Linked DNA regions of Homo sapiens: region 2 is linked to region 1. Evidence: promoter capture Hi-C in 16 types of primary human blood cells and fetal thymus (Javierre and others, 2016). All regions are on one chromosome and are shown on one strand. Each heading gives the region's core, a stretch centred on a gene start or on the middle of the fragment in contact. The rest is flanking DNA. Distances are from core to core; before and after follow the strand shown. Region 1 holds the start of SPICE1 (spindle and centriole associated protein 1). Region 2 overlaps RMP64 (ribonuclease MRP subunit p64).

The links. The method cuts DNA at HindIII sites, captures the fragments that hold promoters and counts their contacts. A CHiCAGO score of 5 or more calls a contact.
Region 2: a fragment that was not itself captured here is called in contact with the fragment with the promoter of SPICE1 in region 1 in 1 of 17 cell types (fetal thymus); the score reaches 6.7 in fetal thymus.

The regions. Positions count from the first base shown.
Region 1 is chr3:113,511,647-113,517,863 of GRCh38, forward strand. It overlaps SPICE1 (spindle and centriole associated protein 1), which reads right to left and starts at 3,510. Exons shown (of 18, transcript NM_144718.4): 1 at 3,251-3,510. It overlaps SPICE1-CFAP44 (SPICE1-CFAP44 readthrough (NMD candidate)), which reads right to left and starts at 3,510. Exons shown (of 52, transcript NR_183050.1): 1 at 3,251-3,510. RefSeq lists enhancers at 3,197-3,316, 3,377-3,426, 4,133-4,182, 4,693-4,742, 4,803-4,852. The HindIII fragment of the contact is 3,693 bases long and covers 2,366-6,058 here.
Region 2 is chr3:113,013,551-113,018,971 of GRCh38, forward strand. It overlaps RMP64 (ribonuclease MRP subunit p64), which reads right to left. Exons shown (of 9, transcript NM_015412.4): 2 at 3,898-4,052; 3 at 403-482. Among named protein-coding and RNA genes, the nearest start is that of NEPRO-AS1, 3.3 kb to the right of the region's middle. The HindIII fragment of the contact is 1,741 bases long and covers 1,247-2,987 here.

The DNA.
Region 1 (6,217 bases), core at 2,260-4,759:
AATAGCTAATGCACGCTAGATTTAATACCTAGGTGATGGGTTGATAGATGCAGCAAACCACTATGGCACACGTTTACCTATGAAACAAACCTGCACATACCGCACGTGTACCCTAGAACTTGAAACAAAATTTAAAAATATTAAGAATATTAAAATTCAAAAAAAATGAAAAATGAGGCTTAGAGAAAGTATATAGCTCAAAGTTATACAAATAATAACAGGCAGAGCCAAGAGCTGACACTCAAGACCAGGTCTGACTGACTGTAAAGCACATGCTGGAAAACTTTGCCAGAATTGGGTTACCTCTGTTTGCTTTTATATTTCCCAAATTTTCTATAATGGACCTATGTTACTCTTAAAAATGGGGGGAAAAGTATTTCAAGTTACATTTAGAATATTTTACTTATTCAGAAGCTAAAACTCCAGATGAGAATGCATACTGGCCAACGACTTGATTACAGCTTTGGAAGACCCTAAGCAAAGAATCTAACTAAGCCATGTCCAAACTCACAACCCACAGAAATTGTGAAATGATAAATAGTAATTGTTTTAGGCCACTAAATCTGTGGTAATTTACTACCTGTGTACAGTAGGATAACACAGGTATAGTTAAGCTGCTATCCCATCTTTGCCCTTCTCTTGCCATCCAGCTTCATGAAAAGGTACACTTTAGCACCTGTATTTACTAATCCTTAGTTCTACCTCCAAGTTTTATTAATTACAAAAACTCTGACCCCACCTTTGCACTGAAAAGCTTTCTTTTTTTTTTTTTTTTTTTTTTGAGACGGAGTCTTGCTCTGTTACCAGGCTGGAGTGCAGTGGCACGACCTCAGCTCACTGCAACCTCCACCTCCCGGGTTCAAGCGATTCTCCTCCCTCAGCCTCCTGAATAGCTGGGATTACAGGCGCTTGCCACCATGCCCGGCTAACTTTTGTATTTTTAGTAGAAACGGGGTTTCACCATGTTGGTCAGGCTGGTCTCGAACTCCTGATCTCGTGATCTACCTGCCTTGGCCTCCCAAAGTGCTGGGATTACAGGCGTGAGCCACCACACCTGGCCTCTTCTATTCTTTTCTCCTTTTCTTCACAGGCTCTATTGTCCTCCTCCACACAAACAATTTAATCAAGGATTTCCACCCAGTTCTATCTCAGTTCTCATTCTTCTTGTCTTTCCATTAGATACCCTCTCCTTTCATTCAATAATTATTTGGGGGAGTGCAGCACACACCAGGCACTGGCTAGGCATTAGAGATACAAGTAAACAAGTAAACTAAGTAAACTAAATAAACTAAGATATTAGTAAACAAGTCTAATATGGTGCCAGCTCTCATGGAGCTGCTTTCTTGATCACAAAGGGGCAGTTCACATCCTCCCTCAGTGACCTCACCAACTCCCTTGAGCAAAGCTATGAATGTATGGACAAACAAACACACTGTGAAAATGAGTCCCAAATCAATGATTCACACCTTTCCTCAAAACTTCAAACACAGTGGCTCGCATCTGTAATCCCAGCAACTCGGGAGGCTGAGGCTGGAGGATCGCTTGAGGCAGGAAGCTCAAGACCAGCCTGTGCAACATAGCAAGACCCTGTCTCTAAAAAAAAAATTTTTTTTAATTAGCCAGGAGTGGCAGTGAGTGCCTATAGTTTCAGCTACTCAGGAGGCTGAGGTGGGAGGACTGCTTGAGCCCAGGAATTGGAGGCTGCAGTGAGCTACGATGGCGCCCCTGCACTCCAGCCTAGGTGACAAAGTGAGGCTCTGTCTCTTAAAATAAACAAACAAAAACAAAACAAAAACACCAAATGCTCATTTCTAACTACCTACTATATACATCTCCCAAATATCACAAATACAGTATATCAAAATACAGCTCATCATCATACCCCAAATCTCTACTTGCTGATATATAACTGGTTGACTCGATAAATATGTTCAATTAAGCTGAATTTACAGAATTACAATCCTAGTTGCTCCAATTTAAAACCTCAGCATCACCTCTGTTCCTTATCTCTTAGTGAATCAGATAACAGAATCTATTAACTTTTTCCCTAAAAATCTCTCTTGCCCGCTCTTCTCCATCTCTACTAAAAATATTTTTGTTCAGGCTCTCATTATTCTAATTAGTCTCCCTTTCACTCTTCACTCACTGACTTCATCATCCATCTATTAATGTAACTAATATTTTGAAGCACCATCTAAAAGCGAGGCACCAGATATAACAAGAAAGTAGAATAGTCTATGCCCTTGCAGAGTTAAGAGTTTCTAAGAGGACCGCAATTAAACAAGTATTTACAACAAAAGGGCAGCATGGGAAGTAAATTCTGTGTGCCATGAAAGTACCTAACTAACTCTATGCAGTAAGTAAAAGCTTCTCCTCTCTGTAATACCCCCAAAAATGTTTGCACTGAGAGCTAAAATACGAATAAAAGTTAGAAGCAGGGGAAAGAATATTCCAGGCAAGGGAAAATGCATTTACGAAGAGTTTGAGAAGTTCAGTTCAATTAACAAAGATCTGAGAGGGTGAGAGGTTAAAGGAAGAAAGGCAGACAGCAGATTGTAGTCTTGTGAGCCACAGCAATCTGAACACCTAAGACCATAGGAAACCACTGAAGAATTTTAAAAGGGATAGTTATGACTGGACTTAGTAAATCCACTCTGACTGGTGTGGAAAACTGATCAAAGAGAAACAAGAACTCTTTCCAAACACTGTTGAATCAATCCTACCTAAATACATGGATAGAGAATAGATCTGAACCCTTTACCTACTTCCTCTAGATTCGGATGGCTCCCCACTGTCAAAAGCAATCCAACTCAGCTTGGCATTCAGACCCTCTCCCCCATATGGCCCGGCTGACTTTTCTTTCCAGTGTTCTCTCACATCTCCCGCAAATCCTAAAACCAAGCTCTCGCCTCACACACAGTTGCAACCATTCTTTTCCCTCTGCTTGGAACACTCATTAGGCTCACTCTCTTCTCTACTGGGTTAACTTCCACGGACTCCTCAAAACTCACAGGAGGAGCCTTCTGAGAAGCCCCTCTGACATCCATCGATTTAAATGACGCTCCCGGTCCCAAAGCACCCTGGATAGTTTGCCTCTCTCCTGCTACACGGTGAACTCCCCCAACGCTACAATCGAGCACCCCCAATTACCAGCTCTGTGCAAAAGCTCCCGAAAGCGGTGCGCACGCGCATACTCGAGGTGCTCTGGCGCCACGCACAAACATACCCAGACACGCACCCTGACACGTACTTGCACTCTCAAAACACAGAGCCGCGGCTGCGCTTCCTGAAGTAAGGATTCCCCAACCGGGCGCCTGGATCCCAGGCAACAGACAGATGCCACCACCGTTCTCCCCACCCTTTTGGTAGCCCTGGTCCCTAAGGCTCGTTGGGACTGCGAGCTGCAAGCCTCAGATCCATCATCTCAACCTGCCTTGCAGTCGGTCCCGACTGCCGCCGCCACCGCAGCTAAAACTTCAGGCGCCGGAACCGCGGAGCGCGCCACAGGTTAACCCAGCCAGCGGCTTCCGGGCTGTTGCCTGGGTTACCAGAGCTCCGCCCCACGCCCTTGCGTATATCCGGCGAGCCCAGTGCGCAGGCGCCTCCCAAAGCCTATCTCGGGTCCTGAGTCTAAGGGAGAGAGGTTCCTCTGCAAGGTTCAGGGCAAATTATTAAAGAATAGGTATATAGCAGGCCGGGCGCGGTGGCTGACGCCTGTAATCCCAGCACTTTGGGAGGCCGAGGCAGGCGGATCACGAGGTCAGGAGATCGAGACCATCCTGGCTAACACGGTGAAACCCCGTCTCTACTAAAAATACAAAAAATTACCCGGGCCAGGTGGCGGGCGCCTGTAGTCCCAGCTACTCGGGAGGCTGAGGCAGGAGAATGGCGTGAACCTGGGAGGTGGAGGTTGCAGTGAGCCGACATGGCGCCACTGCAGTCCGGCCTGGGCGAAAGAGCGAGACTCCGTCTCAAAAAAAAAAAAAAAAAAAAAAGAATAGGCATATAGCATTAGCCGGTGCCTCGAGAATTCTCCAAAAGAAAGATGTTGCTCTCCTCACCAGACTTCACATATCACTTAATTTGCTTTCATCTCTATTCATTTGTTTACAAATCTTTAGTAGTGGAATCCCAGCACTTTTGGAGACAGAAGCAGAAGGATTGCTTAAGCTCAGGAGTTTGAGACAAGCATGGGCAAGATGGCGAAACCCCGTCTCTACGAAAAATTAAAAAATTAGCTGGGCGTGGGAACACGCCTGTAGTTCCAGCTACTCAGGAAGCTGAGGTGCGAGGATCGCTTGAGCCAAGGAGGGCAAAGCTGTAGTGAGCCACAGTCATACCACTTCACTCCAGCCTGGACGACAAAGCAAGACCTTGTCTCAAAAAAAAAAAAAAAAGTTGTTTATTACAACCTACAAATGTGCGGGAGAGCTAGGTTCTATGGGGCTAAAAACAGGCAAGGTGGGAAACTTACAGCATATTAACAGACAGTTATCAATGACAAAAACATTAAAATTATGACGAGTGCTAAGAAGGAAGCACTCTAACCAAATACTTAGCTTATTATTATAGTAATATTTGAATTACTCAGGAAAGCTCAGACATGAATAGGCCAGTGGGGAAGGGGAAAGCATTCCTGCAGAGGGAGCTGCATGTGCAAAGATGTGGAAAATGCAAGGGACAGGAAGAGGTCCAGTGTGTCTGAAGTTTAGAGAACAGTGGGAACTTGCTGTGAAGGGGAGGCGCCCTGATAGGCTGGATCCACGACAGTCAGAGCTGCGTGGACCACGTTAAGAACTTTACAAAGCACTTGATTCAAAAACAGAGTTTATTTGCTCTGGTAAGACAATTTCCTCTAGCCCCTTGCTTTCTGCTGTTACAATACACCCATGTGTGGTCTGCAAATACATGCCCAAAACCTTCTAGAGGAAAGGTACTGCCTTTAATAGTTTTCACTCTGATTGAGGAAGTTTGATGTAGATATATTTAATAATCAACAATCATCCACTTGCTTGCATCCTCAACTCCCTGCCCCTCTCTAAATTGCTGTAATCACTTGGCAAAATGACCATATTAGCCATCCCTACTTTACACTTACTAAGTGCTTGCACCCATGCAGCTGAATCTGAAAAAAAACACCCAATCATGCTGACTTTAAATTCATGATTACTGATGTTAAGTAGGACCTTAAAGATGCTTGAACATCTCATTACAGGTCCCTGTTCATTGATTTTCCTACATATTAGTTTTATACCTTCATTCATACCCAATGCCTTGTCTCCTATCCTCATTCTCACACAATGACCTTGCTTCCTACTGCATTGATTACACTGAATTATTCAAAAGAGAACTTCCCTAAGCTCCCATCATTATTTTAATCCTTCTGTCACTATCTTTACCCACAGACCTGCCTTCAGAAGCTCAGCATAAGAAATATGAAGAAAGCTAATCAAAATACTTCATAATCAAATTGCTCAGAACGAGTGATAAAAGAATCTTAAAAGCATCCAAGGAAAAAAATACATGTCGTATACAGCAGAACAAAACTAAGGATTACATCAGTTTCTCATTAGAATCAAAACAAGCAAGAAGACAGAATAACAGTTCAAACATATTCAAAGAAAAAAAGCTATCAACCTAGAATCCTTATACTATTCCTTTTTTTTTTTTTTTTAAGACAAAGTCTCACTCTGTCACCCAGGCTGGAGTGCAGTGGCACGATCTCGGCTCACTGCAACCTCCACCTCCCAGGTTCAAACAATTCTCCTGCCTTAGCCTCCGGAGTAACTGGGACTACAGGAACACACCACCATACTCAGCTAATTTTTGTATTTTTAATAGAGACGGGGTTTCTCCATGTTGGTCAGGCTAGTCTTGAATTCCTGACCTCAGGTGATCTGCCCGCCTTGGCCTCCCAAAGTGCTGGGATTACAGGTGTGAGTCACCGCGCCTGACCCTTATACTATTCCTGATACCACTTAAAGGTAGACTATGATAAAATAAAGATGTATACTATAAACCCTAAAGCCGCCACTAAATAATAAAAGTTATTGTTAAAAGCTTACAAAAGTCATGTAAAGGATAACGAAACAAATACTTGATTAATCTAAAAGTATAAAACAAGAAAAAACAAAGAAAAGAGAGAAGTAGGAAAGAAATTGCAAGATGATAGACTCATAAATCATATTAAATGTAAATTGTCTAAACACACTGAATA
Region 2 (5,421 bases), core at 867-3,366, 500 kb before region 1:
AGAAGCACAGAGCTTCCATGTCCTCCCTGGGCGACCCTTCACATTTTCAGCTATGTGCAAGCTCCCATTACTTTCATTTTTAAATATAAAGCATTTCTATAGCAGTTTTCAAGTGAAGACTTGCTTTAAGCTCAACTTGAGGTAGTTAAGCACAATAACAGCCCACTGATGTTTTAATATAATCTACCATGACCCAGATTTCAATGTCACACCAGTCACTCCCATAGATCAATGTCAGAAGATTACCACAAACACCAGGTACCCCACATTAAAACAAAATTTATACAGCTGAGGTATAATTGGTTATATTCCAACAGCAAGCATAGAGAAATCCAAAGGGAGATCACAAGACATTGAGTTCCCAGCCCACCACATCACAAAGCAACTGGACCACTTACTTACTTGGAAGAAAACAACTCAAACAGGTCTTGAATTGAGCCCTCCAAATTCATGTTTTTCAAACGCTTTAAACATTGCTCAACCTGAAAGAAGAAGAGCAGTTCAAATTCATGTGTATGTAATGCAGACAGGGTCACTGATTATGACCAGGAAAGCAAAGACTTCTAGATTTTCAAAGTATGGAAATATGCTAAATATCACAGAATACCTTATTTTTTTTCAGGGTAGAGAAATCCAAAGCGCAAGCAATTGCTTCTAGTTACAAATTTGGAATTTATCCAGCCAAACACATTTTTAAAATCAGGTGACTCCTAAGAAATTAGTATATGCCACAATGAGCTTGATGTCATAAAAGGGACCAAAACGAGTATAGGTTATTCTCAAGATTATAATTTTGCTAAGACAAGATTTTTTTTTTTTTTTTCAGATGGAGTCTCACTCTGTCGCCCAGGCTGCAGTGCAGTGGCGTGATCTCGGCTCACTGCAAGCTCCACCTCCTGGGTTCACACCATTCTCCTGCCTCAGCCTTCCAAGCAGCTGGGACTACAGGCACCCGCCACCACGCCAGGCTAATTTTTTGTATTTTTAGTAGAGACGGGGTTTCACCGTGTTTGCCAGGATGGTCTCGATCTGGACCTTGTGATCCGCCCACCTCGGCCTCCCAAAGTGCTGGGATTACAGGCATGAGCCACCGCGCCTGGCCGACAACATGATTTTTAATAGTGAAACTATTAAAACAAGATAGAAAATTATTAACTACTAAATTTCAACAGTCTATAAAGTACCACAGAGATGAGGAAAACGATTGGCTTTAATCACTGAACAAATATATTCTTTGATTAGATGAAGCTTGTTCTTATGTTCCTCTGCATCTTCTCTCTTTCTCCCTTCTCTCTCTTGGGTTTTTTTTCTCTTTTGAACCGCAGTTCACTTACTATGTTTTCCAAGTGCTTTACCATCTGGGTTTGTCAATACCTCCCTCAAAGGATGGTGTCCAGACTTGAAAACTGAAAAAGATAGGAGCTGACCCTAAAGAATTTAAGGATTGTTCCCTCCATTATTCTTGAAAACCGCTGTTAAAACAGAATCCATAACCTTGGTTCAATTTCTAGAAGTATATTTGCAGCTCTGGCAAGATACTCTTGTTGCCAGTATCAATGCCCATCCAAATTTTTGTATCTGTCTAGATGCAGTCCCATGCTGCCCTTTGTGTGTTATTCCTGAGGACTACAGAATTCCTACAGCATTTTGTACCATGCATGGCTCTTACTTTTTTTAAAAAAAATTAAAAATCCTATTGAGTGCTTACTGAACACTGTTCTAAGAACTGGATTATGGTGGTAAACAAAAGGGACAAAATACATTGCCCTTGTGGAGCTTACATTATAGCTGGGAGAGAAAGGCAGTCAATCAATGGCAGGTGGTGTTAAGTGCTATGAAGACAAATAAGGCAGAGAGGGAGTGCTGAGAAGATTGCAATTTTAAATAGGGTCTGTTTTTATTTTAGCATTTAATTAAATATTTTACATGTCTTCCTATTTTTACTACTAGATTTTTAGCAACTAGAGATAGGGAAGTTTCTAATACCACTTTATCTGCCAGCATGCCCTACATGTACTCCACAGAACAGGAATCAAAACTACTTTCTGTGTTCCATTTAGGGGAATGTTTAGAGACAGGCCAATTCTAGTACTTACATGAAAGTTCTCTGAAAACTGTGAAATATTAAGCAGTTGTAAGGCAGTAGTAGAAGTGGTAATAGCAGCTGCAGCAGTAACATAAGCATAAAACATGTTTCCTACTTCAGGGATCACATGGAATATAAAATATATACACAAATAACTTTACCATGACACAGACTATATTAAATGCTATAAGTACAAAGAGGAGGCCCAAATAGCCAAGAATTTAAAAAAAAAAAAAAAAAAGCAACTTCAGTAATAATCAGAAAAATACAACTTAAAATGAGATTACTATAACACAGATTATCACTGCCAGAAAGGCTTAAAATGGGACTTAGAGGATAGGAAGGCCTTTAACAGGCAGACATGGTGAGGCTGGGCATTCTAAACATACAGGACCAGGTAAGCAGACTCAGAAGCAGGAACAAACATAGTGAGCATGCAGGTGTGTTGAGTCCAGGTTGGCTGGAATATAATCTATCTGAACGCAAGAGAGAAGCCCGAACTAAGAAGACTGAAGAGGCCAGATCACAGATCTCGTAAGCCAAACTAAGAAGTTTGGTCTTTACTCAGGACACAATGGAGAACGACTAAAAATCAAAGTTGTGTTTTCAGATGATTAACCTGGTTTTAATATTTAGAATATGCCAGAACTTAGGAAAAGCTGAAGGAGGAAACATCAGTTATGATAGTAAGACAACTAAAAGTTGACAAGGTCTAAGAAAGGAAAATGGCAGCCAGAACTGAAGAGGGGACCAGATGCAGAGGAAGTTTTGTCTTATGGACTGCCTGGATGGGAGAGCTACGTAAGAGAGAGAGACTAGAGAATGCCAAATTTTGATGACGGGGTGATTATTCACAACCCAGAAGCTAGAAGGAGAAATATATTCACTTTGAGGGTTAGCAAGCTTGCTTTTGGATCAAAAAGACTCCGAAAAAGATAAAAGCCACCCTAGAATGGAAAATTTAGGGAAAGACCATGGTCCCAGATCTTTCTTTGATGAAATCTTCACCCTGTTTGCTTTAAGTACTAGGGGTAGAAAACTAACCAGAAAGCATGCATCTATAAGGTTAGAGACTGTGTCTACCTTTTTCACTCCTCTATACACAGCACTAAGCAGAATGCCTGGCACACAGAAAGTTCAAAAACACTTGCAAGGTAGCCCTGTCACACAATGGATAGCCTTCTGAACTTCCAGAAAATACTTGCAGAATTAAGTGAATGAATGAATGAGCATATCAGGAAGCCAGCTTAAGAGAGGCTCTACTCTATGGTATAGCCCCTGAGCTGGAGGGCCCAATTTTGTCTTAAGCTCCAAACATTACATGAAACCAGTTTACACCACAACTTGCTATGTACCCATTTACTCTAACATACCACCAATTAGATTATGTACCCCATAATAAGTAGACAAGTTTTTTTAAAAATAATTTTAGCATTCTGATTATGCCCAGGGAACTGTTTCTTAATGTCCAACATTTTGTCTTGCTCAAATCACTTTATCTTTGAGCTGGGCAAAGGCACTGTTGTTATAGATTGTATATAATGAAGAAAATGTTTACTTGCCTATTAGAAACAAGACTGGGAAAGAATCTAAACATACTTCTTTTCTAACAAAAATTACTTTTTGAAATGCTGAAATGCTTTTAGGAAAAAAAAAGAAAGTGCACATGTAACTGTGGGCTATAGGCCTATAAAACACAAGTAATTTACTGAGATTTCCACGAGATTTCCATAAATAGCAATATAGTAAGTGGCAGTGTGATCTACATTTTCAAGTGAACAGGTTGGGTCTCACCTACCGGGCTTCCTCACCTGTTTGAGGGCCAAATGGGGTTTGTGGCGGCCCATTCTGTTGTGATTGCTGTAAAGGACTGCACATAACACATCTGTTTCTGCATCTAAGGTTTGGCTCTTCAGCGACAGTATGACGAGATGGCATTCTTTAATTACAGCTGCAATGCAAAGGTCTGAAGCAGAGACATCTAATAAGATTTAGTATGTATTTCTACAGTAAGTATATTATATTAAAAACACACTAAAAAAAGCATCTTTCCTTATTTGTTTTAAAGGAATCAAAAACTAATGTAATCAGTCTCAACTGTAAGAACGTAAGGATTCTAAGTATAAGAGAAGTTGGAAAATGGTAACAGATGATATAAAGTCCAGGAAATCATTAAGAGAACATCTGTAAAACAAGAAGCTGTATCTTTGCATTGCATTTTATCATGGTTTAATAATCTTTCATATGAATACTTTGCTGTCAGTCATTTGGTGTACACTTACGCCTCATGTGTACACTTAACCCCCACCTTGAAGGTAGGGCACATGTCACAACATGTGTAATAACTCTCTAACTCCCCATGTCGCTATGCCCGAAAGCAAGACAGAATGAATAAATTCACAGTCTTCAAAATCAAGGCTTCTGTGTTTGGATATCACTTTATGAGAGACACAAACATATTCAGAAAAGAAAAACCACCACAGTAACTGGAAATCGTATTATTTGATGAACACCGGGTGCTCATCAGCAGATGCTTCCTAGTCTGAAAATCTGTAGAAGTCCCTAAGATGTAGTTCATGTGTTATTTATGGCTCTAAAGGCAGCACTAGCATTCTAAATGGAAGTAAAGGCTGGTTGCTACCTAACAAGAATTTTCTTACTGTCCCAACAACTACCTGAAGACAGAATGGGCTGCCTCGGGGATGGGTAGTGAGTTGGTGAATTTCCCAGGCCTAATAGGAGTTGTTAAAGAATTTTTGAATAGAGAAAGAGGGAAGATTAATCTGTAAAGTGTGTAGGAAGGATAGATGGGATAATCTGTAAAGTGTGTAGGATGGATATATGGGAAAGGGGATGTGATGATCTAAGTCAAGCTTGTCCAACCCGCCTTATTTTGTTGTTCTGTTCTGTTTTGTTTTAGGCTTTTTGCAGCTTAAAGCCATGGTTTTTAGTTTGTCTCTAGTGAAAAGAGGGATGAGGAAAGGGCTTTACCAGCCCAACCGGAAACAAAGAACCCATGACTGTATTCTCTCCCTTGGGCCCCGGAGCTACGTATTTAATATTCATAACAGCTTCCATTTGAGTGTTCATTTACCATGCCAGGCAGTGTTCCAAATGCTTTCTCTACATTATCAACTCTTTCATCCCCCCAAACAGCCCTATGAGGAAGGTGCTTTTATCTCCATTTGAAAGTGAGATCAGTGAGGCACAGAAAGGTTCAATGACTCCTTCAAGCTCCAGCAAAGGGTAGAGCTAGTATTCAAACCCAAACAACCTGGCTCCTGCGCCAGGCTCCTACCTACTATATGCCCTTCACCCTAACAAATACCACCCAT